Linked DNA regions of Homo sapiens: all the other regions are linked to region 4. The links are contacts of gene promoters, found by promoter capture Hi-C in blood cells and fetal thymus (Javierre and others, 2016). All regions are on one chromosome and are shown on one strand. Each heading gives the region's core, a stretch centred on a gene start or on the middle of the fragment in contact. The rest is flanking DNA. Distances are from core to core; before and after follow the strand shown. Region 1 overlaps MICAL3 (microtubule associated monooxygenase, calponin and LIM domain containing 3). Region 2 overlaps BID (BH3 interacting domain death agonist). Region 3 overlaps MICAL3 (microtubule associated monooxygenase, calponin and LIM domain containing 3). Region 4 holds the start of USP18 (ubiquitin specific peptidase 18).

What was found. The method cuts DNA at HindIII sites, captures the fragments that hold promoters and counts their contacts. A CHiCAGO score of 5 or more calls a contact.
Region 1: a fragment that was not itself captured here is called in contact with the fragment with the promoter of USP18 in region 4 in 3 of 17 cell types (M0 macrophages, erythroblasts and endothelial precursors); the score reaches 5.5 in M0 macrophages.
Region 2: a fragment that was not itself captured here is called in contact with the fragment with the promoter of USP18 in region 4 in 2 of 17 cell types (endothelial precursors and erythroblasts); the score reaches 6.5 in endothelial precursors.
Region 3: a fragment that was not itself captured here is called in contact with the fragment with the promoter of USP18 in region 4 in 1 of 17 cell types (naive CD8 T cells); the score reaches 5.7 in naive CD8 T cells.

Annotation. Positions count from the first base shown.
Region 1 is chr22:17,821,989-17,829,275 of GRCh38, forward strand. It overlaps MICAL3 (microtubule associated monooxygenase, calponin and LIM domain containing 3), which reads right to left. Exons shown (of 32, transcript NM_015241.3): 22 at 5,656-5,793; 23 at 959-1,072; 24 at 42-182. Among named protein-coding and RNA genes, the nearest start is that of LINC00528, 48 kb to the left of the region's middle. The HindIII fragment of the contact is 1,942 bases long and covers 592-2,533 here.
Region 2 is chr22:17,744,984-17,752,160 of GRCh38, forward strand. It overlaps BID (BH3 interacting domain death agonist), which reads right to left. Exons shown (of 6, transcript NM_001196.4): 2 at 5,122-5,191. The coding sequence starts at 5,133. Among named protein-coding and RNA genes, the nearest start is that of MIR3198-1, 16 kb to the right of the region's middle. RefSeq lists an enhancer at 5,192-5,736. The HindIII fragment of the contact is 5,764 bases long and covers 1-5,351 here.
Region 3 is chr22:17,838,519-17,845,386 of GRCh38, forward strand. It overlaps MICAL3 (microtubule associated monooxygenase, calponin and LIM domain containing 3), which reads right to left. Exons shown (of 32, transcript NM_015241.3): 20 at 3,304-3,499. Among named protein-coding and RNA genes, the nearest start is that of LINC00528, 65 kb to the left of the region's middle. The HindIII fragment of the contact is 7,527 bases long and covers 1-6,868 here.
Region 4 is chr22:18,146,553-18,153,796 of GRCh38, forward strand. It overlaps USP18 (ubiquitin specific peptidase 18), which reads left to right and starts at 3,618. Exons shown (of 11, transcript NM_017414.4): 1 at 3,618-3,670. LOC124905076 (a long non-coding RNA gene) reads right to left here and starts at 2,662. Exons shown (of 2, transcript XR_007067999.1): 1 at 2,548-2,662. RefSeq lists enhancers at 3,359-3,678, 6,038-6,287. The HindIII fragment of the contact is 4,848 bases long and covers 1-3,916 here.

The DNA.
Region 1 (7,287 bases), core at 313-2,812, 330 kb before region 4:
GGAATTCTGAAAGTTGTTTCTCCCATCAAAGACAGGCTCACCTCTCTCTTGGTGCTTCGGTGAGGCGGGCAGCTTCTCCTCATCTTCCGACACCCTCAGCTCCAGCTCTGCTTCCCCCTCAGCTGGGCACGGCAAACGCAGCTCTCTGTCAGCATCCGACGGGCTGTCAGACCAGTGCTGATCTGGCAGAGGGAAGGGGCAGAAGTGGGTGCACACCCTAAGTGAGGCCAACTCCTTTTCCACCTGAGAGCAGCCGCGCCACTTGCTCATTTGCAACACAGCTGCTCAGGTGCAGGCCTGGAGGCCCTTCTTACGCAGGGACAGACCTGCCTACCAGACCACCCCCGCTCCTGAGGGGCCCGGCCAAGAGCACCCTCCTGCCTTTGCAACGCGGGGCCGCATCAAAGCCTGTGGGGCTCTGTTTCTTTTAAAATACAGCAACAGTCACACATGATGGGCTGCGACAGACAAAGACAGGGTGTGCCTGTGGAGGGCAGGCCTGGCCTCACGGGCCCACTTCTATGCACCTCCTCCTCTCAGTAGCCCTGACTGCCACCCCAACTCCACAGCTGAGGCCTGCGCCCCCTCGCAAGCTTGGGTTCTTCTCATTCTTCCCAGCCTCGTCCCTGACCCCCTCAGCCCCCCACAACCAGACTGCGATGCAGAACCCATCTCCAGGTATGTAGCTTTGGGAGCCAGTCAGCAGAATTAAAGGCCTTGTATAAAGCCACAGGTTGGCTCAGGCACCCAGCTGCAGCTGGATGACTGCAGGCCAAGTCGCCTGGTGCTCGTGGGTAGGTGGTGGTTGGGTGGAATGAGATGCATTCCAGCCATGGTGGAGCCAAGAAGGAACCAGGAGGCCCAACGGCGGCCTCACTGAGCTTGATTTTGCTGGAAAGCATATTGCCTTCATCTTCCCTGAGCTCCCACCACAGGGGCGGGGAGGGCGGACCCCTACCATCATCCAGCTCAGCACCAGTGTCCCCTGGGTCCCCATCCTCTGCTGCCTCCCCTTCTATCTCGGCTGGTTCTGAGTCCACATCTTCCTCTAGGTCATTCTCATCCAATGGGGCTGCAAAGCAGAAAGGTTCAAAGGAAGGAAGAAAAGGAGGACAGACAGACAGGCTGCATCTTCACGGGGGCGAGAGGTACTGCCTTTCTCAGGGCGCTGCCATGCAGGCCCCAGGAGAGGGGAGATGCTGCCAGGCCCAGGGGGCTCTCCACACGTAGCATGGGTGCTGGGGGGGGCCCGGGGCCCCCAAACACAGGAGGTGGGCATTTCTCAATGCTAGGGGCCAAGTGGGAAGAGAAGAGCGGCTGAAGGTGGGGGCATTGTTCCTCTTCCCCCAAAGGTTGCTGTAGGAACCTCAGTTGGAGGAGGGTGGAAAGGGAAATGCTGTTTCTCTGGGCCTTGGCCCAGCAGCATCTGCCAAAGCCTGGCTGTGTGCTGACCGCCTCACACACCATGGGTCATTCAGCCCTCATAATGCAGGCTGAGCATCCTGAATCTGAAAATCCAAGATCCAAAATGCTCCAAAATCTGAAATTTTCTGAGCACTGACAAGAGGCCAAGTGGAAAATTCCACAGCAGACCTCGTGGTGACAGTCACACCTAAAATTGTTTCATGCATAAAATTATTAAAAATATTATATAAAATTATCTTTAGGCTACGTGTACAAGGTATATATGACACATAAATACATTTCGTGTTTAGACTTGTGTCCCATCCCCAAGATCTCTCCTTATGTATATGCAGAGATTACAACATCCGAAAAAAATTCGAAATCCAAAACACTTCTGGTCTCAAACATTTCAGGTAAGAAACACTCAGCCTGCAACATAATTAGAGGGACCGTTTCTTTAGCGAGAAGTCTGAGGTCCAGCCAGCTGAGGGGGTTGTCCACAGCGCTGTGTGCAGGGGCACCAGATGAGCTTCCCTTGCAATAATTTAGAGAAATACTAATACTTTGGGAGAGCATTGGGGGCTGAAGGTACGTAAAGTTCATCCTCTGGACTCCAAGTGGCCCTTCAGGGCTGCAAAATGAGGCAAAACCCTCGACAACTTCCCCTCCCCAGGAGCCGGCCCCTAAGCACGCACACACCGTCCCCACCTCCCACACTCCGAACTTGCACCAGCAGGAAGAGGGCGGCACGCTCTGCTCTGAGGACACTGTGAGACCCGCACCACCTGAGACCCACAGGACCACTGGCCGGGGGCCTGCGGGCTCTCCTAGGGTTCAAGCCCAGCCACCCTCAAATTACCCCTAAGGGTTTTAATTTCAGGAGAAAGGAGTTATGCTCTGATGTCCATATACAAGAGTCCGCACGGATCAAAGCCCCAGGCTGGGGAGCAGGGAACTGATGGCGCCCGGTTAGGTGGATTTCTTAAAAAGCCATGTGGAAATGGGAGGGCGCAGCCTCGGAAGTAGCATCTTCTCTCCACAGGCCAGGCACTTAGAAGATGCTGGCAACGTTTTATCCCTTGAACAGGGTGGCAGTTATATGATTTTCTGTTTCTTTAATAATTCCTTAAGCTTATTTTTATCTTTTATGCACAGTTTGTAAGATGACGGTTCAAATCTAGTGTTTGAAGAACTGTATGAAACAGGTTTGGAAGGGAACAGACGGCCCACGTCACAGGGAGAGATAGGCGGGTTCCCAGACTAGCTGACAGTTAGGGCCATGTGCCTCCCTGAGATACCAGAGTGGCCCACGTTGCTGGCCGTGCCAAATGCTATCCTACAGCATCGGCACCTGCTGGGGGAAGCAGGGGGGAAATGCCTCAAGTATTTCTATTGGTTAAAACCTCGGTGTGAGAACACTGCTTTTGGCCACTCAAGGAAGACAGTTCATCAAACACCAGGGAGTGGGACTTCTGGAGCAAAGATAAAAGAATTCATGGCTGCACTACACCGATTCTGAAAAGGAGGAACAAACGCCCCGTTTGGAACAGAATCTGGCCCATCCCATGGAGAGGGCCACTGTGCCTGACAGATTTGTTGGGGTGAATCTGGGTGCCCAGGGATCAATATGGCAACTCTACACTCTTGCTGGCGAGGGAACTGGAGGCCAGCACCAAGGAGACCCAAACAGGCCTCCCAGCCAGGCACAGCCCAGGGCACCCTGGGTTAGCCTGATCCCGCCCTGGTGCCTGGGTCCTTCACGCGGCTCTCCTGTAGACTTTCTATTAAGAAATGCCTGTGGTAGAGTCAGGCGGGTGAGAAGTCTACACTCCTTGGCAGTACCTTGAAAGGAAAAATCGTCACAGATAAAAAAAAATAAACAGGTGAGAAATATCAACGCAGCAGCAGCAGTGTTGAAAGGGACACAGCTTGAGGGGTGGATCTGGGGGTGAAATTCAGGTTAAGACGGAGTGCAGGGTGCTAGAAGCTGCCACGCAGGTTGATGAGCCACGTGCTATGAAAGCCAGGAGCCACTGACCCGCTCAGCTCTTGGTTTCCTTCAGCCGCCAGCTGGGAGGCTCTTGCCCCACCGCCCTAGGGACCCAAGCTATCTAGAAGAGGAGCCAGCCGTCTCTGCGCAAAGAGCAGTGGCCCTTCCCTGCGGCTGTGTGTGCCTGTTTCTCCCACTGCCGGGAGGACACAGGGACAGGCTGCTGAAGCCCCACGAGCTCCCATGTCCGCATCCCAGAAGTGACCGCTAGGACAGTGGTGCTGTTGGCGATAACACTGCCCTTCCTCCAGCAGTGTCTGACAACTCGTGGAGGGATTTTTGGTGTCTTCATAGGTGGTGGAGGCTGCACGGACACTCCAAGGGCCGAGGCCAAGAATGTTAAACCTTCTGCAAGGGAAAGAGCTGTCCTGCCCCAAATGCCAGTAGCCCCTCGGTGAGAAACACACACTTCCAGAAACATGTAGGAAGGACAACTCAGGCTGCTCAACGATCTCTTGTACTTGAAGAGACGCCTGCAGCTCGGGCTGGATTTGACTGGTGTCACCCCTGGTCACACCCAGCCTGTCCCCACTTTCTGCTGAATAGCACCCGCCCATCCTCTGCTCTTCCCTCTCCACCATCATCCTCCCATAAACCCCCTGGTTTTGACAGCCTCCTTCTCTGATAGCTTGGTAGGCTTGTGGAATATCTTCTGATTCCTCCCCTTTCACACTCAATCGGTAACCACCTCATTCTCAACACATTTTAAAACTCTCAGTGCCAAAAACGTTCCTTTGGCTTTGGCCTTTTTATCCGACTCTTATCAATAAAAACCTGCCTGTGTCTGTCCTGCCTGCCCTCACGTTTCCCTCTGAGCTGCCCTGAAGGGGGGGTGTGCGTCTGATCCATGCAAGGGCGGGCTGTCTGGCAAGGCATGCAGGTACCCCCACCCGCCTCTGCCGCCCTGGCATGCACTTGCAACAGGCCCAGGAGTCTAGTGTTAAGGTACCAGCAGAGCCGCCTAGAGAGAGGTTACGGTGAGTGGGGAGAGAGTGAACATCACCAGACTACCTCCGGAGACCGTCTCCAGCCAGGCCTGCACCGCCGCGTGGCGTATGGAGGGAAGGTCGGGCACTGAATTTAAAACAGACGACAAATACAAAGTTACACAGCAATATGCGTTCCCAACGAGGAGAGCCAAGGTCATCCTTAAAATCCCAAAGAGAAAGAAAGTGAGAAGGCATTCAGGACAGACGCCTGTCTGGCACCAACAAGGGGTGCGAGCCCTGATGTTAGCCTGTGTGATGGAGAATCAGGATGAGAAGAGAAGAGGGAAAACCCAAGGTAGGGCCACCGCCGGCCCAGGGCTGCAGAGCGCTCCCCAGCTCACAGGCCAGCCCAGTGATGCGGGTGCTCATGGTGCCACCACAAGCCGGAAACGGAGGTTGGTCTTGCCTACAAGTGAAGATTTGGGGCCAGGGAGGAACAAACGTCTTATTAATGCTGTTTTATGATGGCAGGAAATGCCCCTTTTGTATGCTCAGAGCCTGGCAGGGGGTGTGGCCCGTGACCGGCGCTGAATGAAAATGTGCACGCACAGAAGTGACAGCAGAGGTGACTCCGAGGGTGGGTATTTGGAAGACAGCATGCCAGGAAAGATGGCACAGCGGCCACCACGTCCCTCAGCAGTCTCCACGGTCCTTCTCTTATTGCTATTCCTTTATTTAAAAAAGCCAGAATAAGGTTCATCTTCATCCTACTGTGTGACACAGACCGTCACACCTAAAGCCTGGGGCTGGAGACGATGCTACTGTGGAGGCCTCCTGGACAGAAATCTCTTCCCAAGACTTCATTTCACTTCCAAACATGCCCCTCCCGCCCCCTTCCTGCCAACACACATTCACGTCCAGACACACTCTAAGAAAAGTACCAGAACGTTTTACGAAGTGAGGAAAGAGCAGCGGTGACCAGAAACATGAGAGAAAGACAGAAAATTCTTGGTTTACCCAAGATCAGGTTCATTTTACCATTTTGCATCAATGGAGAAAGAGTCCACAACCTCTTAATCCACAGAGAACTTCACATATCCTCAGATGAAAAGTACAGGTGTCACAACTGACAGCAGCAAAGCGGGATGCGCCTGGCTCCCGTGTGTGACCTCATGGGTGGCTCTGCCCTGACAGAAAGGCCCCCTGTGGCGACAGAGGCAGCAGGCGGGTGGTGCTCGGGGCACACTGCGGCCTGGGGCTGGGAGTGTTTACCTCCGGAAGCAGAGGACTCAGAGGCCGGCGCCATCCTCTCTTCCTCCTCTCTCTCACGGATATGAGTCCAGTGCACGTCAGCCTGGATCTCCAGAGGATCCGCCGCGTGCATGACCTGCTGGAGCCTCTGGTTCCCGGCTAGTGTCCCAGGGTCAAGGGGTGGAGAAATGAGGTGGGGAAGGAGGGGATGAAATAGCATGGGAAAGGAAACAGAAAGAGAAGTTACAGCATTGGCCAGGGTCAGTATGAATCAGAAAGAAGTAAAAATTAAGAACATGTATGCACATGTATACACACACACACACACACAGACGCATGGACACACAGACACACACGCACAGTCCTTCTGCTCATTCAGTGTGACCTGGTCATTTCCAGCCGTATATGTACCATTCAATTCAGTGAAGAGAATCACACATTCCTTTCTGAGGCTCCTTTCATCCTGAGCTGCATTCAGGGGGCCCATGCACCAAGATGGAAAAAGAGCAGATTCCAGCCTGCTTCTGCAGGCCCAGCCCCAAGGGGTCACAAGGACCTGCTTTGTCCCTAGCACAGTGTGAGACCCCAGGATGCACTATCCTGCCCCTCTGCTGGTCACACAGCAAGGTGCCCACCACCACTCGCCCAGCTGATGGCCAGGTGACGAGAGAGGTGGGAAGAGATTGTGTCATTCTGCCGCCAGCCGGCCAGCTCACACAGGACAGAGATAGACTTTGCTGGCACTTCGGTTTGCATCTTCTGCAGCTGGAGCTGCTGCTGGAGAGAAAAAGTCCCCGTCCCTTAGTGGGCCTCATGCTGCATGCTGGGTCTGAGGCAAGGACACGGATCCCAGTGGAGGGTAGAGTCAGGGGAGGTGATGGCTGGGAGGGAAGCAGAGCTCTTTCATGTACGTTTCCAAACCCTTGGAATTTCACAGGCGAGAATGAGACCAACAGCTCTCTGAGGTCAAAGCCCTCACCTGAGAACTCCATGTGGTGCCCTGCTTATCACCTCTGGAAACAAGGCCTGGTTTCTCAGCTACATGGAAACTCACCAGTGGCCCCTCTGGATCCCTGCCCTGTGGGATCCCTGTACTTAGTGCTTGGACCGTGCCACACAGTTGGGTTAAGATAAAGGGACAGCTAGCAACTGGGAAGGGAAGGTGGCTGTTCAGCAGGTGCCACCTGATCTGAAGGATTCGTGTTCCTGCCAGGAGCCAGCTTCCATCTGGGAATGGGTGACATGCCTCCTCTGAGTCTAACCAGACAATCTGGCCTTGGCTTCAGTCACTATGACAGCCTCTTCAAGCAACAGGGAATGTGAAATGGGCAGAAAGGACCAGCAAGACCACCCAGTGTGATGCTGGCCCTGTGCTCTGCCGTATGTGGGGTATCAGCCCATTGTTGGAGCTGCTAGTCTCTATAGATTTGTTGCTGGCCCTGCAAGCCGTATGTGGAGTATTAGCCCCTTGTTGGAGTTGCTGGTCTCTATAGATGTTGCTGGTCTCTATAGATTTGTGGACTTTTTCTGAGGTGAATTTGCCTTTTTTTTTTTTTTTTTTGAGACGAAGTGTCGCTCTTGTTGCCCAGGCTAGAGTGCAATGGCACGATCTCAGCTCACCGCAACCTCCGCCTCCCAGGTTCAAGCAATTCT
Region 2 (7,177 bases), core at 1,220-3,719, 400 kb before region 4:
ATAATATTTTTCATTAGAAAAACCAAAAACTTTTAGAGGACAGTTCTTACAGGGCAAATTGTTTTTTTGTTTTTGTTTTTGTTTTGAGATGGAGTCTCGCTCTGTCACCCAGGCTGGAGTGCAGTGGTGTGATCTCGGCTCACTACAACCTCCGCTTCCTGGGTTCAAATGATTCTCCCGCCTCAGCTTCCTGAGTAGCTGGGATTACAGGTGTGCATCACCACGCCCGGCTAATTTTTGTATTTTTAGTAGAGACGAGGTTTCACCATGTTGGTCAGGCTGGTCTCGAACTCCTGACCTCGTGATCCGCCCGCCCCCCAACTCCCCCCAACTCCTTGGCCTCTCAAAGTGCTGGGATTACAGGTGTGACCTACTGCACCCAGCAGCAAATTGTTTTAATGCTTTGCTAGGTGATGCCTGTAATCCCGGCACTCTGGGAGGCAGAGGCAGGAGGATCGTTTGAGCCCAGGAATTTGAGACCAGCCTGGCAACAAGATCCCCATCTCTACAAAAAATAAAAATTAGCCAAGGTGGCATGCACCTGCAGTCCCAGCTACTCATGAGACTGAGGCGGGAAGGTCACTTGAGCCCAGAAGTTTGAGGCTGCAATGAGCCATGATCACACCACTGCACTCCAACCTGGGTGACAAAGTGAAACCCTGTCTCAAAAAAGAAAAAAAAAATGCTTAAAATAAGGAGCTTGGCCGGGCGCGGTGGCTCACGCCTGTAATCCCAGCACTTTGGGAGGCCGAGGCGGGCGGATCACGAAGTCAGGAGTTTGAGACCAGCCTGGCCAACATGATGAAACCTTGTCTCTACTAAAAATACAAAAATTAGCCGGGCCTGGTGGCGGGCGTCTGTAGTCCCAGCTACTTGGGAGGCTGAGGCAGGAGAATCGCTTGAACCCGGGAGGTGGAGGTTGCAATGAGCCGAGATCGCGCCATTGCACTCCAGCCTGGGGGACGAGAGCCAGACTCCGTCTCAAAACAAACAAACAAACAACAAAAATAAATAAATAAATAAATAAAAATAAGGAGCTTGTGTATTGCTGCAGCCATAAAAAAGAATAAAATCATGTCCTCTGCAGCAACACGGATGGAGCTAGAGGCCATTACCCTAAGTGAACTAACTCAGAAACAGAAAATCAAATACTGACTGTTCTCACTTATAAGTGGGAGCTAAACAATGGGTGCCCATGGACACGAAGATGGAGAGAGCAGGCACCGGGCACTTTACAGTAGGGAGGCGGGGGCGGGGGAGCGCAGAAAGAGTCCCTCTCCATGCGATACCGGAAGCCCAGTCCCCACCAGTGCACAATATTCCCATGTGACAAACATGTACACGTGCCCCTGAATCTAAAATAAAATAAAATAAGGTGCTTGTGTATTGCTATTCAGCCTTTACTTCTCCAAAGTTGTTTCTGAAGAGAGGAAAAACTGTATGCAAAATTCCACTGCATCAATTCCTAACAATTCTTGTACGGAGCAGCCGCATGGCACAAGACAGCTTACAAACAGGATGTGCTTCATTCCTGCCTCAAGCGACAGTCCTGGTGACACAGTTAGTGCTGGGCTAAGCTGTGTCACCCAAAAAGAAAAGCGCAAGTCCTAACCCCAAGTACCTGTCAATGTGACCTTATTTGAAAATAAGGTTTTTACAGATGTAATCAAGTTAAGATGAGGTCATATTGGATTAGGGTGGGCCCTAAATCCAATGACTGGTGTCTTTGTAAGAGAAAGGAGAGGGAGATTTAAGCAGAGACACACAGAGAGGACGCCATGTGAAGACAGAGGCAGCCACAGGAGCCAGGAGAGCGCCCCAGAAGGAAGCAGCCGGGCAACATGGGATTCCAGCCTTTGGGCCTCTAGAACCGGGAGGGGATCCGCATCTGTTGTTTAAAGCCACTCTCCTGCTTGGAACCGCCTACAGCAGCCCCAAGAAGCTAACGCAGGCAGCCGCTGCCCAAGGACTTCTTTTTGACCTGCGCTTGGTAAATTGGCATCCAGAATCTGGACACAGAGCGGTGCTGCCACCACAGCAGGTCAGGTTATCAAACTCAAGATCCCACAGAAAATAAAGACTCGAGGCGGCAGGGAGGGAGAGGAAAGAATGGCACCTGCCAGAGGAGGTCTAGGTGCCGCAAGTGACCGTGAAGCCAAGCACTGGGCCCACTGAGTGGACAGCTGTGTGGACAGGCTCCTGTCTGGACCAGTGCCTCAGGGACAGGCTGGGCCGGCCCTGCAGGACAGGAGTGGGCTCGGAAGATGGATGCCATTTAATTCCAAGAATAGGGCTTGTGCTGTGCCAATATGGAATCATGCCCTTTTTTGATCTTCTAGATCCACTTTGTTTTTGGAGACAGAGTCTCATTCTGTTGCCCAGGCTGGAGTACAATGGTGCCATCTCAGCTCACTGCAACCTCTGCCTCCCAGGTTCAATGGATTCTCCTGCCTCAGCCTCCCAAGTAGCTGGGGTTACAGGCACGTGCCACCACGCCTGGCTAATTTTTGTATTTTTAGTAAAGATGGGGCTTCACCATGTTGGCCAGGCTGGTCTGGAGCTCTTGACCTCAGGTGATCTGCCCACCTTGGCCTCCCAAAGTGCTGGGATTACTGGCGTGAGCCACCATGCCCAGCCTCTAGATCCACTTTTGATAAAAGAATTGATAGTTTTTTATCTTTTTAGATCACAGGAAAAAAATATGTTAAGAGAAACGATCAAGACAGTAAATCCTGCAAGACATGTTACAAAAATGATCTAATGGAGGCAAAAATAATAAGATCAGTTCCAGTGGAAAGGAAAAGATGGTGCTGGCCGGGCGCGGTGGCTCACGCCTGTAATCCCAGCACTTTGGGAAGCCGAGGCGGGCGGATCATGAGGTCAAGAGGTCGAGAACATCCTGGGCAACATGGTGAAACCCCATCTCTACTAAAAATACAAAAATTAGCCAGGTGCGGTGGCTCACGCCTGCAATCCCAGCACTATGGGAGGCCGAGGCGGGCAGATCGCGAGGTCAGGAGATCGAGACCATCCTGGCTAACACGGTGAAACCCCGTCTTTACTAAAATATAAAAAATTAGCCGGGCGTGGTGGTGGGCGCCTGTAGTCCCAGCTACTCGAGAGGCTGAGGCAGGAGAATGGCATGAACTTGGGAGGCGGAGCTGGCAGTGAGCGGAGATCACATCACTGCACTCCAGCCTGGGCGACAGAGCAAAACTGCGTCTCAAAAAAATAATAATAATAAGGCCGGGCACGGTGGCTCACGCCTGTAATCCCAGCACTTTGGGAGGCCCAGACGGGCGGATCACGAGGTCAGGAGATCGAGACCATCCTGGCTAACACGGTGAAACCCCGTCTTTACTAAGATACAAAAAATGAGCCGGGCGTGGTGGCGGGCGCCTGTAGTCCCAGCTACTCGGGAGGCTGAGGCAGGAGAATGGCCTGAACCCGGGAGGCGGAGCCTGCAGTGAGCGGAGATCGTGCCACTGCACTCCAGCCTGGGCGACACAGAGACTCAATCTCAAAAAAAAAAATAAAAATAAAAAATAGAAGTATCTACACAGAATTAAAGTTATGATGGGAAAAAAGGCTGAACCCTATAATTGAAAAGAAAGTTTCGGAGTGTTTCGCTGTGACCCCAGCTCTGTGGCCCTGGGCGGGCTGCCGTACTGCTGCCTCCGCTTCCTCACTCCGAAGGCAAGAAAGGGGAGTGGCGACGTCCACCCTCCCTCACTGAGGGGGCCGGGGAGAGGCGGGCGGGAGGGCAGGCGCCTCCTCCGGCGAGTCAGGGCGCTGCGCGGGTGACGGTGGTGTTCTACCTGCGGAGGCCGCCAGAGCGCGAAGCCGGAACAGCAGCGGCAGGTGGGAAGGGACAGTGGCACCCAGAGTGGTCTTTTGGACACTGACAACAAGCCTGGATCAGGGCCGGGGGAGCTCCTGCAATCTCCTCTGTTTATGTAACTAACATCAAACTCGAGCCACTGCCTCAGCCCTCCAGCCACCACGCTGAAATCCACACCGTCCCCACCTTTGGAAAGGACCCCCAGTAGGGGCAGCTTGAGAACCTCCTGGGTGCCGGGTGCTCTCCATGCTCAGGAACTGCGACACAGTCACTAAGTGCCAAGGCATTAGACTTCGCAGATGCCTTCCCAGAGGCTGCCAGGACAGCGTGAGGCGCCCAGAGGCTGCAGAATTCGGCAGGAGGGAGGGGAGGAGGATGTGATGCAGCGGGTGGGAGAGAGCACCCGTGTGCTGTGATTTTTCTCTCCCCAGACCATTTAAAGGGAAGGAGAGACAAGGAAGCATCCAGGGAGCGTCCTGCTGAAGGCGGGGGCTCCGGGCTCCCCTCCCAGAACTCCACCGCTTTTATCTTTATAAAGACGGGGTCTTACTATGTTGCCCAGGTTTGTCTCAATCAAACTCCTGGCTTCAAGCAATCCTCTCGCTTCTGCCTCCCAAGTCACTGGGATTATGTGCCTAAGCCACCTCGCCCAGCTATGAAGGGAAATTTAAATCCAGTGGGTTAAAAAATTTTTGAAACACCTTACAGTTTACAGTACTTTTATTTGACCTTTATTGATTTATTTGCTCCTCATAGCAATGGCATTGGTTAGACAAGGTAAGTATTGTCTTGCTTTTACAGTTGAGAGAATTATATGAAGTGCTTATCTAATGCCCCCTTTCTTCTTCTTAAATCTCTTTCGTGTTTGTTTGGACAGGGCTGCAGTGCAGTGGCACAATCACAGCTCACTGTAGCCTCGACCTCCTGGCCTCAAGGAATCCTCCTGCCTTGGCCTCCCAAAGTGCTGGGACCCACAGCCTATGGCTGTTAAATGGTCTTAAACCCAAAGCCCCCTCGCCCTTGCAGTTAGCCCCAGGCGCGGTGTGGAGGGGCTGCACCACAAGCGGAGTGCGAGGAAGGCGCAGGACAGGGAAAGGTAGGACTTCCCGGCTCCCGCCTGCTTCAGTGAAGGGGCTGGGCGGGGTTCGTCTGTGCCGAGCTGTGGTAAGGGCCAGGCGGGCTCAGCCTCAGCCCTCAGGGATGCGTGGTGGGGGACACGCAGGCCCTTACCCCTCGACCCCGCCCCCCACAAGGCACCCGCAGGGGATCTGGCCTCTGACCTCACAGTCCATGGCCTGGGCAGCGCGGCAGCTCCGACTCACTCCTGGTTCACAGTGTCCCAGTGGCGACCTGGAAAGGGACACACAGAGTGGGCGGCCGCTCCTGGGAAGCCCTGGTCAGGACCCCTCGGGAGGACGACGAAGCTGGCCTGTGCTCCAGAAATGGCGGCTGAGCCGAGGTCCTGGCCTGAGCCCCGCATCCTGAGTTTCTTTCTCCTTGGCGGGAGCCAAGCTTTGTTTTCCTCATTCCAGATACTCACCCAGGCGCTCAGTGCCCTGGGGCCGACCCCGCACCTGAATTCAGCCCTCCCATGCCGCCCCAGGAAGACCTCAGGCATCAGGGAAACGGGGCCGTGGGCTCACAAATTATTTTATTATCATAAAATGTAAAATGTTTATAGAGAGAGAGAATGGATTTGACAATTAAAAAATTAAATCTTCCGGCTGGACGCAGTAGCTCATGCCTGTAATCCCAGCACTTTGGGAGGCCGAGGCGGGTGGATCATGAGGTCAGGAGATCGAGACCACCCTGGCTAATGCGGTGAAACCCTGTCTCTACTAAAAATACAAAAAATTAGCCGGGCGTGGTGGCGGGCGCCTGTAGTCCCAGCTACTCGGGAGGCTGAGGCAGGAGAATGGCATGAACTTGGGAGGGAGAGGTTGCAGTAAGCCGAGATCACGCCACTGCACTCCAGCCTGGGCGACAGAGCGAGACTCCATCTCAAAAAGAATGACCAGTCTGGCCAACATGGTGAAACCCCATCTCTACAAAAATACAAAATTAGCCAGGTGTGGTGATGCAAGCCCTGTGGGCCCAGCTACTTGGGGGGCTGAAGCAGGAGGATCACTTACACCCAGGAGGTGGAGGCTGCAGTGAGCGGAGATTGCACCACTGCACTCCAGCCTGGGCGAGAGTGAAACCCTGTCTCGAAAAAAAAAAAAGATCTGTGCGGCATCAGTACAGTAAGCTGTCTTAAAAAGACTGAGGCCGGGCGCGGTGGCTCACGCCTGTAATCCCAGCACTTTGGGAGGCCGAGGCGGGTGGATCATGAGGTCAGGAGATCGAGACCATCCTGGCTAACAAGGTGAAACCCCGTCTCTACTAAAAATACAAAAAATTAGCCGGGCGCGGTGGCGGGCGCCTGTAGTCCCAGCTACTCGGGAGGCTGAGGCAGGAGAATGGCGTGAACCCGGGAAGCGGAGCTTGCAGTGAGCCGAGATTGCGCCACTGCAGTCCGCAGTCCGACCTGGGCGACAGAGCGAGACTCCGTCTCAAAAAAAAAAAAAAAGACTGAACACAAATTTCTACAGAACACTGTGAATAGAATAATCCTGTTTTAAAAAGTATTTGCCTGTGTGTGTGTGTGTGTGCGTGTGTGTGTGTAGACACAATATCAGGTTGAACCAAATGAAATGGCCATTTTGTAGGACAAAACCAAGCATTGGCAATTTCACATGGTTCCTGAATACATAGGAAATAAAAAGCAAACAGAGGAGAAAGCCTGTGCCCAGGCAGAGAGGAGGTGGCAGGAGGTAGCACTGACATGCGCATCACCCACCTCCCCACCTGGGGGCTCACACAGGCCTGGGGACCCTGCACTGTTGCAGGCTGCACCCTACTCTCCCTCTGGGGAGCCCAGGAGAAACCCTGGCTGTGTGTGGCCGTGCATTTCATAGGAAGGGACCAAGAGCAAATGACTGAGCTGCATGTGGACAGGGAGGCACCAGGATCTGGCTCCGGGGCCATCTGCCGGCTCCACAGCAGAGGAAGGGGAGTCTGCACCCACAAGAGACAAAGCGCAAGACAGACCCCACCCCAGGAAACAGGCCACAGAGGCCACGGCACCTCCCAGGGCCACTGCCCAGTCCACAGAACAGTGGACCAGACCCTAGCTTCTGCCTCAAGGTCTGGAATCCCCGCCCCTCACCACTTTGTTCTCCAAGGAACAACTTCAGGGGTCTCTGTGGGGAAAGTGCCCACTGTCACCTCTGAGCTCGGGAGGCAGCTCACAAAAACCAGCTTCCTTCACACTCAGATACACGCCCATGTCACAAG
Region 3 (6,868 bases), core at 2,323-4,822, 310 kb before region 4:
TACGACTTAATCCTCAAAACAAACCTATGAAGTGCAGCACCTTTGCAGATGAGGAAACTGAAGCAGGGAGAGGTTAAGTAAATTGCCAACAGCTAGCAGGTGGCAGAACTGGGCTTCAAATCCAGGCTTTGTTTGACTCCAAAGTCAGGTTCTGAAACATCACGCTGCTGTCCCCTGCAGCAGAGGCCAAAGTTAAGAGTTCACTGAACTTGTGAAATGAGAGTTCCTTGGCTGGAACGGTTAATGCCTTAAAATGATGCCATTTCTCATCTTCCAGTCTAACATCTCAGCAAGGAAGGACCGACGGCTGGAAAGGCACCCAATTCTGTGCTTGGTGCTGTAGGGAAGACAGAGAAAAACACCACGCACTTCCCGTCCTGTGTCCTACGGCCACCCAGGGAAGTAAGACAACATTTATAGCTCCTTCCCCTAGATGCTTTTTTTTTTTTTTTTTTTTTTTTGAGACAGGGTCTTGCTCTGTCTCACAGGCTGGATTGCAATGGCATGATCCTGGCTCACTGTAACTTCTGCCTCCCTGGTTCAAGTGGTTCTCCTGCCTCAGCCTCCTGAGTAGTTGGGATTACAGGCAGGTCCGGATAATTTTCATATTTTTTGTAGAGACGGGGTTTCATCATGTTACTGCTGCTCTCAAACTCCTGGGCTCAGGTGATCTGCCTGCTTTGGCCTCCCGGAGTACTGGGATTACAGGCATGAGCTACCGCACCAGGCCGGGCTCTTCATTTTTTTTTTTTTTTTTGAGACGAAGTCTCCCTCTGTTGCCCAGGCTGGAGTGCAGTGGCACAATCTGGCTGACGGCAACCTCTGCCTCCTGGGTTCAAGCGATTCTCCTGCCTCAGCCTCCTGAGTAGCTGGGATTACAGGTGCGTGCCACCACACCTGGCAAGTTTTTGTATTTTTAGTAGAGACAGGGTTTCACCATGTTGGCCAGGCTGGTCTTGAACTCCTGACTTCAAGTGATCTGCCTACCCCAGCCTCCCAAAGTGCTGGGATTACAGGCATGAGCCACCACACCTAGCTGGGCTCTTCCCTTTTTTTTTTTTTTTTAAGATGCAGTTTCGCTCTTGTTGCCTAGGCTGGAGTTTGATGGCACGATCTTGGCTCACTGCAACCTCTGCCTTCTGGGTTCCAGTGATTCTCCTGCCTCAGCCTCCCGAGTAACTGGGATTACAGGCGACCGCCACCATGCCCGGCTAATTTTTTGTATTTTTAGTAAAGATGGGGTTTCACCATGTTGGCCAGGCTGGTCTCGAACTTTTGGCCTCAAGTGATCCGCCCACCTCAGCCTCCCAAAGCGTTGGGATTACAGGCGTGAGCCACCGCACCCGGCTCTTCACTTTTAAGAGACTGTTTTTCATTCTGTATAGCACTGAATGCTACTTTTAATTATCTTTTTTTTTTTTTTTTTTTTTTTGAGACGGAGTCTCACCATCTCCCAGGCTGGAGTGTACTGGTGTGATCTCAGATCACTGCAACCTCCGCCTCCCAGGTTCAAGTGATTCTCCTGTGTGAGCCACCGTGCCTGGCCTTTATTTTATTTTTTGATTTTAATTTTAATTTTTTTTGAGATGGAGTCTCATTCTGTCACACAGGCTGGAGTGCAGTGGTGCAGTGGCATGATCTCGGCTCGCTGCAACCTCCGCCTCCCAGGTTCAAGCAATTCTCATGCCTTACCCTCCCAAGTAGCTGGGATTACAGGTGTGCACCACCATGCCCAGCTAATTTTTGTATTTTTAGTAGAGACAGGGTTTCATTATGTTGGCCAGGCTGGTCTTGAACTCCTGACCTTAAGTGATGTGCCCACCTTGGCCTCCCAAAGTGCTGGGATTACAGGCATGAGCCACTGCGCCCAGCATGAATGCTAGTTTTAAAATCTTTTTTTAACTTCAATCTGAGTAAGATGAGGCATGTATTGCATTGCATAGATGCTGACTGATTTCATGTTTTCTGTGCTGCCCTCCTGTCATACCTGCCATAAATGCCAGGGGTTAGCCTTCCTGGAATGTCCTTGCTACATTACATGAACTTGCTGCCCCACTGCCTCTCACAATTTATAAATTACAGTGGAGAAAATGGTGCTGACCCACACTCAGCCCAAGGTCAAGCCAGTAGCTCTGCTCAAGGGTTTATAAATGTGTTTTGACACACAGCATCTCTCACCCTCACTGCAGGGTCAGTGGAGAGAGAGAGTGGGCTCCCCCTCATCTGGGCACAGTGGGGAGAGTGGGGCCTCCATGGGTGCTCTGGATAGGGAAGCAGAGTTCTGGATGAGGATGCACCATCAGTGACAGCTTTGGAACTGCAGACACCAAGGCAGAGGCTGCCCCCGGCATGCACGGAGGAGCGGTCTGTGAGGCAGCCCAAGAATGAATCTAGGCAGAGGGTGTCTGACATGAGGGCTGAGGTGGCGGGTGCAGCTGAAAGCAGCTCGGCCCAGCAAACACCTTCTGGAAAGCGTTCTTGGACCTTAAAAAAACTGCTCTGCTCTCCTTATCCCCACATGTTCCCTTCATCATGGCTAAATCAAGGTGTGTGATTCAAATGCTCTCCAAGGCCACTTGAGGCCTCTGCCCCTCGGGTTTGCAGCCTGTGTTTCTGTCCTGAAGCCCCACAGGACACCGGACCCCCTTTTGATTCTTGGCTCTCTTGATCATCTGTAATCGGCTGAACACTTTGAAGCCTTCGCTGATACTGGAAGCCCTGGGGTGCAGGGCAGTGGATATAGGGAGTCCTAGGGTTATAGCATGCACATCCCCAAAGGTGTCACCCAGCTGGATGTGATTACAGCTCTGGAACTGCCTAAGCATGCATCCACTGGTGCTGCATGCGGCCCCTGGGGCACACATTTTCAGTCCCTTTCTTTACCTACAGGAGAAAAAAAGATGCCTGGGGGACGGACTAGGCCTCCCTCAAGACGGCCCGGTGCACTGGTGGCTGAATCACCCAGAGTCCCTCCCCGTGTGCCCGTCCTTCCCTCTGCTGAATCTGTGAATAACCCGGGGGCAGAGCCTGCCACTTTCCTTCCCAATGACAGACTTGGAGCTGGGGACATGTCAGGTCCTCAAGGAATAAATACTTCCTGAATCTCTGAATTGAGTCTGATGGAGGAGTCCTCACTGACTAGAAGATGAGGCTAAGAACCTAAAAGGGACTGGGGAGAATGGACTGCGGGCAGCAGGAAAGACAGGAGGCCTCCCTTCACTGAGAAGAAACCGAGACACACAGAGGTGAGGAGGCTCTTAGGGCCGTGTGGCGGGTGGGCGCCCTGCAGCCCTGCGTGCTGACCTGCTGGCGACGTCCTCCTCGGCGCCCGTGTCCAGCACGCTGCTCAGGTTGTGCTCGGCCTGAGTCTCCTCCGGTACCTCCTGCAGTGCCTCAGCCTGCCTCAGGGACAGGCGGTAGTTCTCCAGCTCGATCCGCTCTGGGGTGCCCCTCAGTCGCTTGGCGATGCTGGGCTCCTCCAGGCCGTTCACGCCTGAACCTGCGGGACAAGCACAGAAGCACTGCACTGAGGTCCAACCACAGACGGGGCGTGGGGGTGGGGGCTGACACCCAGGCTGCAGGCCCTCCTGCCAGAATGTGGGGCAGGACAAAGGTCAGAGCATTTGCAGAGTTGCCAGAGGCCAGAGAAGGACCCTGGCATGTGAGAGGGAATTTCACTCTGCAGGAGAAAGGAAGGTGGCCCTGTCTGCCCTCCAGGTCAGAGCGTTCTCTCTCCTTCATCACCCTGAACCCGGCCCCCAGAGGGGAGACGCAGTCTCCCCACAAGAGTGACTGGTGGTGAGGGGTGTGGGCCAGACCGCAGGCAGCCAGGAGCCAGGTGCCCCTGAAGCAGCCTTGCCTGAGAAGGGCATCCCCGGTGCAGTCTGCCCCAGGGATCCAGGCCCCCACCAGGTGCCTCCCCCAATGCCTGCCCCGGGATCCAAGTCCCCACCAGGCACGTGCCCCACCACTGAGGGGGCCTGGCCAGCTGCCTGAAGAACGTCTCATGCTGCGGATCTGTCTCCTCACAGTTAGATAAGGCACTTTCGGTTTCATAAGGCCACGTGGGCGATGCTGCCCCTACCGCAGCACCGCTGCTCAGAGGAAGGACACCAGGCCCGACCGCTCACAGAGGTGGCACCCAGGCCTCTCTGCGATGCACAGGCACACTTCCCCATCAGTCCTCCGTGGGCTTCTGAAGCCACGGGGTGCCCTGCCTGCGTCCTTTCACCCTGTGGTTTCAGCATCGTCGGCGATCTTGGCCGGAGTCCTTTGTGTGCACAGGGCGTCACACCAGGTGATTTTAAAATCCCATCACTCTGGCTGGGTGCGGTGGCTCACGCCTGTAATCCCAGCACTTGGGGAGGCCGATGCAGGTGGATCACGAGGTCAGCAGATCAAGGCCATCCTGGCTAACACAGTGAGACCCCATCTCTACTAAAAATACAAAAAATTAACCAGGCACGGTGGCGGGCGCCTGTAGTCCCAGCTACTCGGGAGGCTGAAGCAGGAGAATGGTGTGAACCTGGGAGGCGGAGCTTGCAGTGAACCGAGATTGCGCCACTGCACTCCAGCCTGGGTGACAAAGCGAGACTTCATCTCAAAAAAAAAAAAAAAAAAAAAAATCCCATCACTCCTCCTCCACTACCATTCTTTGGTAAAGAAGCACTTTTCCCATTTTTAACTTTATACTTTCAAGTACTGCTATGGACTCGGATTTTTGAAAATGTGTTTTACAACTGTGCTTTGGTCTCCTTTAACATGGAACAGTTCTGCTGCCTCCCTTATCATCACCACTATTCTCTGTTGACGTCCCTTGTCCTCCTGATCCTGGTCAGAGGAGGCTGTCATGAGTCCTCTGGTGTGTCCCCTGTAATGTGAGTAGCACCGGGTCCAGGTGGAGGCGGGCAACCCCAGGTCAGATTTCCTCATCTTCCAGATGCCTGGCTCCACCAGTAGTTGGCTGAAGGGTCTTAGAAAATTTACAGAACTCCTCAGAGCTCGTTTCCTGATAGATAAATGATGGCACCACCCACCTCCCAGAGCCGTCATGGACACCGAGTGACACGATGCACACATACTCATGTGGGGGTGCGTGTTGACCCTGCACCCCACACACACGGTCACCTTCCTCTTCCACTTAACGCCTGCCACCTGGGGAGTGCCCAGGAAACATGAGTGAAGCAGCAAGTCTGGTGTCCAGTAATATTTCCCCACCACTGTGTGCATACTCCTGGAAAGCTGCATCCACAGGCTCTGGAGAGCGAACAGTCGTTACTGAGAAACAGGGCTGAGGCACAGTGCCATGTGGTAGCAGCCTGGTGTTACCAGACATTTTTTTTTTTTGAGACGGAGTCTCGCTCTGTCGCCCAGGCTGGAGTGCAGTGGCACGATCTCTGCTCACTGCAACCTCCGCCTCCCAGGTTCACGCCATTCTCCTGCCTCAGCCTCCCGAGTAGCTGGGACTACGGGCGCCTGCCACAGCACCCGGCTAGTTTTTTTGTATTTTTAGTAGAGACGGGTTTCACCATGTTAGCCAGGATGGTCTCAATCTCCTGACCTCGTGATCCGCCCGCCTCGGCCTCCCAAAGTGCTGGGATTACAAGCGGGAGCCACCATGCCCGGCTGTGTTACCAGACCTTCAAGGAGGCAGAGAAGGGGCAGAGGTGCTGGAGGGAGCAGGTCATGACTGGGCTGGCATCCTGGCTGGGCAGGTCACCGATTCCTGCAACATTCTAAGCTCTAGGAGACAACGCTGGGTTTTGGCATGCCACATCATACAAGCCAGTGTTGAGAGACAGGTGGTCCATCAGGCAAAACCTGGCTAAAGGAAAGCGGCAGGTGATTCAGCAATTTTTGTAGCACGACAGGTTGTGCACAAAGTGTTTTCTGAAGGCCTGCACTTCTGTTGTGTGCAGTGTTTGAACGTCTTTGTGGCAGCCTCAGACAGAGCTTTTAATGAACCCTGGTAGTCACAGGATAAGGTCTTGGCACATCTGTTGGAATTACTGGCATCCTCCACCAAATAGCATCTTTCGAATTCACTAGAGAATCTTTACTAACAAAGCAAGATCCAGTGGCGTATTCACATACAAATTCAGGTAATGGTGTGATGAAGGGGCAAAACACGAATACTTGAGTTCACTTGTGCCCTGTACACGTGCCCACTTGTTTTAGCCTTTGCATCCTTGCTGGGGGACCTTTTTAAACATCATGCTCCATTCTTCAACACCGAGCTCAGGGCACAAAAAGAATATGCTATGATGCTGGGCTAGGGCATCTTGAAGATGAGGAAATGTGGACTAGAGGTAATGGCAGAAAAGAGGCAGAGGGCAATCCTGATAGATCCGGCCTCAAGTTTCTCCAAACCTGCCCTCCCAGGCCTGGGACAGCAAAGGCCCTAACTGCACTAGCTCATCATTCCCAAATACCAGTCTTCCCATCCCTTCCTTCTCCTCATCAAAATCCATGGCGGCCACCCCATAATGAACAGGGGAGGGCTGAGGATACACTGTCTGTGGCGCCATTTGATTCTTTCCATCATTTATTTTTGACAACTGCCATTCAATGGAAAGCAGATGAGAAAGGGAGATAAAGTCAAGCAACTACCCAAGAATCAGCTTTCTGGGAATTCCATAAATACGGAACAAAAAGTGGTATTTCTTTTAGATGGGAGAAGAAAAACAGGATAAGAACTATCACTTCAGGGAAACAAACAACTAACAGCCATCAATTCAGAGGGAAGTGATTTTACAGTAGAGTGAACGAAACTTGGGAAGGAAAACATCCAAGAGGCGTCTGTTTGACGTGGGTAACGTGGGGAACGCATACTGTCTGGCAAGAATTCTACTAGGACCACGGGAAACAA
Region 4 (7,244 bases), core at 2,368-4,867:
ACAAAACCTGTCACAGTGATGGATTTATGGCATGCGGGCAGAATGAACCTGTATCACATGTATGTAATAATGGTAATTAATAATATGTATTTTGTGGGAGAGTACTTTGAAACTGTGTAAATATCCTGTTTCTCATCAAACTTTTAATTTATTCAGTATCTACTTTTATTGGTATGAAGTGTGGCTTCCCATTTTATTTAACAGGTCGAAATGTTACTATCATCATTTCAGGCCAGGCGCGGTGGCTCATGCCTGTAATCCCAGCACTTTGGGAGGCCGAGGCAGGAGGATCACAAGGTCAGGAGATCGAGACCATCCTGGCTAACACGGTGAAACCCCGTCTCTACTAAAAATACAAAAAATTAGCTGGGCGTGGTGGCGGGTGCCTGTAGTCCCAGCTACTCGGGAGGCTGAGGCAGGAGAATGGTGTGAACCCAGGAGGCGGAGCTTGCAGTGAGCCAAGATAGTGCCACTGCACTCCAGCCTGGGCAACAGAGCGAGACTCCGTCTCAAAAACAAAAACAAAACAAAACAAATCATCATTTCTTTTAATGCTCAAGTTGTTCCAAATTTGGCCAGTGGGAGCATGGTCTTGGAGCTGGCTTCTGCATCGTTTTGAAACATCCCCATCATTCTTGGAGCATTCCCTTACTTGCTGGCAGAACAAGATGTCCTAGGCTCATCTTGTACTTTCTCTGCCTTAACCCCAGAAACAGCCATTTCTCCAAGCAACATTGGTTCCTTTTACTAGAGAATGGGAATTAGAAACCAAGATCTGGGTGCAAGATGTACTGTTGGGGTGTCACTGTTCCCAGGCCCCCTACAGACCAAGTCAGGGGATGTATGCATGTATACACATGTTTACCTCCACATGTACTTCTTTTTTTTTTTTTTTTTTTTTTTTTTTTTGGATAGGGGATCTCGCTGTGTCGCCAGGCTGGAGTGCAATGATGCAATCTTGGCTCACTGCAACCTCTGCCTCCCGGGTTCAAATGATTATCCTGCCTCAGCCTTCCGAGTAGCTGGGACTACAGGCGTGTGCCACCACACCCAGCTAATTTTTTGTATTTTTAGTAAAGACGGGGTTTCACCGTGTTAGCCACGGTGGTCTCAATCTCCTGACCTCGTGATCCACCCGCCTTGTACTTCTTTATCTATCTGTGTATACATACTGAAAATCATGGATCCACACTGCTAAGTCCAATTCCAGTTCAACACTAGTGGGCTCATTCTCCCTTTCCTTATTTGTAACTCCTATCTCTGAGAGTTTCAACTCTGGCTCCAATTATCCTTAATACATTCAGTTACCTGGTCATCCCCCTGTATGTAACTAATCTGTCATCTCCACCAGCACCCTGCCCTCCCTGGACACCACACACTGGGCCACTCCAATACCGGGATGTGCCACATCTTCAAATTGCTTGGGCTGTGACCCTGGGCCGGGCTGCACCAGCACCCATTTGTGTCTGACATTGTGCTGGGCAGCCCCACTGTGCTGCCACCCTCCTCAACCTGCTCCAGTCCAGCACCCTGCTTGGGCCACTGTGGAACATACTACACAAACGCCCACTTTGCTTGACACACCTGATGGCCTTAGCACGGAATTGTTCAGGAGGGTACCATGAAGGACGGAAGGAAGAGCCCCATAGAAGTGTAATGGATCCTTACATTATATAGTCCAGCCTCCAACCCAAGGTTCACCCTTGTCCATTCTGCACTGGGGCAGCAACACCAATTACTTTGCTCCACCGACCTACCAAGATTCAGATAGAATCATTGGATTGACTATTAATAGTTTTCTGCTGATAGTTGCTGCAAGCAACTGCAGCTTGCTCCTTAGCCTTCTACTGACTTGCTGTATTTAGCATATTTTATCAAATTTTGCAACCTCCTCTCCTCATTGCCCTCACTTGAGTTTTTGAGGTTCCTGTTTGTGGACAAGACTTACCAGATGTATGAAGCTGGTTATATAACTGATTGGTCAGCAAATATAATGAGGACGGACCCTGCGCCCACCACCGTGTACCTGTGTAAACACCATACTGCGCAAAGTCCACCAGCCTTCCAGGGAGAACATGCTGCACTGTGGGCGACACTGCCTCCGTTCCAGCAGCAATGTAAGCGGAGTCTGGGCTGACGATGGACGTGTGGATAGCCTGTATGTGTATATCTGTGCTCATGCTTCTAACACACATCCACCCTATTATGGACACGTTTATACATCTTCATGCCATGGTATTTTGTACCTTACTGCAGACCCTACCAACGCTTCAGTGAGGTTCTGGCAGCTTTGGGTTTTTGGAGGCTATTTGTCTGTTGCTGCGGGGACGGCTTTCAGAAAGAATGATCGCTTTGGGGGAATTGTACCCTGCTTTCCTGCGCAAATTCCAGCGGCTGGAGTTTGAGGCCCCTAGCAGATAACCCTTCTGCCCCTACCCCCATGAGTCTACATACAAGAAATACATCTCTAAAGAGGTAATAAGCCTTTCCGGTGTGCATGTTACAGATCTCTTAACCTTATATATACACAGATGGTCCATCACTTACCGTGGTTTCACTTACGATGTTTCGACTTCATGATGGGTTCACTGGGACTTGACCCCATTTTTTTTTTTTTTTTTTAGACGGAGTCTTGCTCTTGTCGATCTCTGCTCACTGCAACCTCCGCTTCTTGGGTTCAAGTTATTCTCCTGCCTCAGCCTCTTAAGTAGCTGGGATTAAGCGCCACCACGCCGAGCTAATTTTTGTACTTTTAGTAGAGATGGGGTTTCACTATGTTGGTCAGGCTGGTCTCGAACTCCTGACCTCAGGTGATCCGCCTGCCTCAGCATCCCAAAGTGCTGGGATTACAGGTGTGAGCCACCGCGCCCCCTGACCCCTTCTTAAGTGGAGAAATATCTGTATCTGCATGCCCACAGGGGAGCTCCTAATTACACCATGTGCCGCATCCAAGCCACAGGCCGGTGATGTGAAGACACCCGATCCAAGAAATACAATAGCATTAAGAAAGAAAAAATGCTGCCATGGATACTACCAAACGCCAAATGACTCTAACACGTAGGCTAATTGCAAGGACCTTAAAATCGCAAATAAAAAGGCGCCTGTAGGTCGGGCGCGGTGGCCCACACCTGTAATCCCAGCACTTTAGGAGGCGGGCGGATCACCTGAGACCAGCCTGGCCAGCATGGCGGAACCCCATCGCTACTAAAATACAAAAATTAGCCAGGAGTGGTGGCGCATGCCTGTAATCCCAGCTACTCCGGAGCCTGAGGCAGGAGAATCGCTTGAACCCAGGAGGCGGAGTTTGCAGTGAACCGAGACAGCGCAACCGCACTCCAGCCTGGACGACAGAATGAGACTCCGTCTCAAAAAAAAAAAAAAAAAAAAAAAGCGAGGGCTGGAAGTCTGGAGCAGGTGCGCGGCTGCAACGGCAGCCGCGGGAAGCTCGGGCCGGCAGGGTTTCCCCGCACGCTGGCGCCCAGCTCCCGGCGCGGAGGCCGCTGTAAGTTTCGCTTTCCATTCAGTGGAAAACGAAAGCTGGGCGGGGTGCCACGAGCGCGGGGCCAGACCAAGGCGGGCCCGGAGCGGAACTTCGGTCCCAGCTCGGTCCCCGGCTCAGTCCCGACGTGGAACTCAGCAGCGGAGGCTGGACGCTTGCATGGCGCTTGAGGCAAGTTCGGGGCTCATTTTGGAAGTTTTCTTTCTAGCACAGACATCCAACTCTGCTCCTATGCCAGTCAGATAATTAAGGAATTAAGTAATAATTGTGCTCTGCAAATTATGATAGTGATCTGTATTTACTACGTGCATATATTTTGGGCCAGTGAATTTTTTTCTAAGCTAATATAGTTATTTGGACTTTTGACATGACTTTGTGTTTAATTAAAACAAAAAAAGAAATTGCAGAAGTGTTGTAAGCTTGTAAAAAAATTCAAACAATGCAGACAAATGTGTCTCGCAGTCTTCCACTCAGTATCATTTTTGTTTGTACCTTATCAGAAATGTTTCTATGTACAAGTCTTTAAAATCATTTCGAACTTGCTTTGTCCACTGAGTATATTATGGACATCTTTTCATGGCAGGACATATAGATGTGTTAATGGCATTAAAAATAAAACAAAAAACTGATTCGGCCGGGTACGGTGGCTCACGCCTGTAATCCCAGCACTTTGGGAGATCGAGGAGGGAGGATCACCTGAGGTCAGGAGTTACAGACATGGAGAAACCCCGTCTCTACTAAAAATACAAAATTAGCCTGGCGTGGTGGCGCATGCCTGTAATCCCAGCTACTCGGGAGGCTGAGGCAGGAGAATCGCTTGAACCCGGGAGCGGAGGTTGCGGTGAGCCGAGATCGCACCGTTGCACTCCAGCCTGGGCGACAGAGCGAAACTGTCTCAAACAAACAAACAAAAAAACCTGATACATGGTATGGGAAGTACATTGTTTAAACAATGCATGGAGATTTAGGTTGTTTCCAGTTTTTACTGGCACAGATACGGCAATGAATATAATTTTATGTATACATTCATACAAATATATCGGTGGAAAATTCCTAGAAGTGGAATGGCTGGGTCAGTGGGCATTCATATTGAGAAATTGGAAGGATGTTGTCAAACTCTGCAAATCAGAGTATTTTAGTCTTAACCTCTCTTCTTCACACCCTTTTCCTTGGAAGAAAGCTAAATTTAGACTTTTAAACACAAAACTCCATTTTGAGACCCCTGAAAATCTGGGTTCAAAGTGTTTGAAAATTAAAGCAGAGGCTTTAATTTGTACTTATTTAGGTATAATTTGTACTTTAAAGTTGTTCCAGAAAACAAGGCAAATACTGAAAAGCATTTCATCTGAAGTTTCTTTCTGGTATTGAACAGAGTTGGATGGAGAGTGAATGCAGGTTACCGATGTGTTCGCAGGAACAAAACGGGAGGGAGAGTAACACAGGTGCACGGCTTCATATTGATTTATCAAAGAACTTGCTTTTGGACTGTTAAAAAATGTGTTGCACAGTTCTGACACTTTTACACAATGATGAGCTTACAAAGGGGAAAATGCTTAACATAAACATAGTTTCAAAGAAGGTAAGTCCTAGTTTTTCCACGAGCTGTTTTTTTTTTTGAGAGAGAGTAGTCCCAAAATTTCCCTATTATGTGGTTTTTCATCCAAAGTGTTGTAATCCGTGTGTTCTAACCCGCATATTACGATTACTCAAGAAATGCAAAATAGGCCGGGCGCGGTGGCTCACGCCTGTAATCCCAGCAATTTGGGAGGCCGAGGCAGGTGGATCACGAGGTCAGGAGATCAAGACCATCCTAGCTAACACGGTGCAAACCCATCTACTAAAAATAAAAAATATTAGCTGGGCGTGGCGGCAGGCGCCTGTAGTCCCAACTACTCGGGAGGCTGAGGCAGGAGAATGGCGTGAACCTGGGAGGCGGAGCTTGCAGTGAGCCAAGATCCGGCCACTGCACTCCAGCCTGGGCGACAGAGGGAGACTCCGTCTCAAAAATAAAAATAAAAATAAAAAAAGAAAAAAGAAATGCAAAATAATGTGAACACGTCATCGAGACTGCGGTCTACAATTGTGGTTGCCATGATGGGGTGGGTCGGAAGACACCGAGGCTGCTTGAATCATGTTCCTGGCAGGTTAATTTTGTTCCTTTTAGGGCATCTAAATGTTGGAGTTGGCTTTCCTGGCAGAGAGTCCAGTTGTGAGTGGAGTATTGGGTGGAGGCCCCACCCTCCCCAGGTTTTCTGCAGCTTGTTCCTGGCTCTTCTGGGGCTTCTCTGAGGACCCCGATTGGTCCTGGGGCTTCTTTAGTGGTGGGCCTGGGCCAGTTCCTTCCGTTGCTCACCTCTCCCCGAAGCTTAAGGATAACATTTCGGGAAGATCATGAGAGAACGTGAACCAAAAAAAAAAAAAAAAATTCAGGTAGGGTGGGAGCTAAGTTAGTTTAGTATTTGGGATTTTTGTTTTGTTTTGTTTGAGACAGAGTCTCAAACAAAGACCCCGCGCCTGGCCTGGGGGTCTTTTTTTGAGTCAGCAGTTGAGTTTGAAAATCCCCTTCCTTGGAATCCGCCCAGGCTGTTTTCTCTGGTGGATGCTTATTGCCCCTGCTAACTTCAGCTGCGGTCTCTCTGCTCGCCTTGCCCTCCCCATCCTCCTTAGACCTTTTAAGCTTCACTTTCCTTTCCTTGCTGCCCCGCCTCCCTGTCTCCCCAGTGTGATCTACCCTGAAAGGCTGCTGTATTTTGTTTCCCTTTGGGACCGAGCCTGCTCAAATGATCTGCTCCATGAGGTTTTACTGCTATATCCTACTGAAGTATCTGGGAGGTCTTGGCGGAGAAGAGGACAACATCTTGGAAAATGCAGCCTGGAACCTCTCTGCTCTCTTTCATCAGCTTTCCCTCAATGATGAGCTCAAAATCCTCTTTCTTGCTGATGGAATTGTCTGCTGTCATCATTTCAGTTGAGTCCTCCTAGGCTGGGCCTTGTAAGAAGAACAACTGTTTATAACTATTGAAAGTCAATATTTACTAAGAAAAAGAGGTTGTTGTTATCTGAGCCATCCAACATGAATTTAAGAATATATTCCAGGCTGGGCGCGGTGGCTCATGCCTGTAATCCCAGCACTTTGGGAGGCCGAGATGGGTGGATCACCTGAGGTCAGGAGTTCAAGACCAGCCTGGCCAACATGGTGAAACCCCGTCTCTACTAAAAATACAAAAATTAGCCATGCGTGGTGGCACATGCCTGTAGTTCCAACTATTTGGGACACTAAGGCAGGGGAAGTGCTTGAACTCGGGAGGCAGAGGTTGCAGTGAGCTGAGATTGTACCACTGCACTCCAGCCTGGGTAAAAAGAGTGAAATTCCATCTCAAAAAAAAAAAAGGAGACAGGGTCTTGCCCTGTTGCCCAGGCTGGAGTGCCGTGGCACGATCATAACTCACTGTGGCCTCAAATTCCTGGGCTCAACTGATTCTCCTGCCTCAGTCTCCCAAGTAGCTGGGACCACAAGTACATGCCACCATGCTAGGCTAATTTTATTTTTATTTTTAGAAAATAAAATATTTTTTATTTTATTTAGGCAACATGCTATGTTGCCTAGACTGGTCTTGAACTCCTGGCTTCAAGCTATCCTCTTGCCTCAGCCAACCAAAGTGCTGGGATTGCAGGTGTGAACTGCCATGCCTGGCTTTCTATTCTCTATTTCTAGGAGATAAGCTTTTTGAGCTTTCACATATGA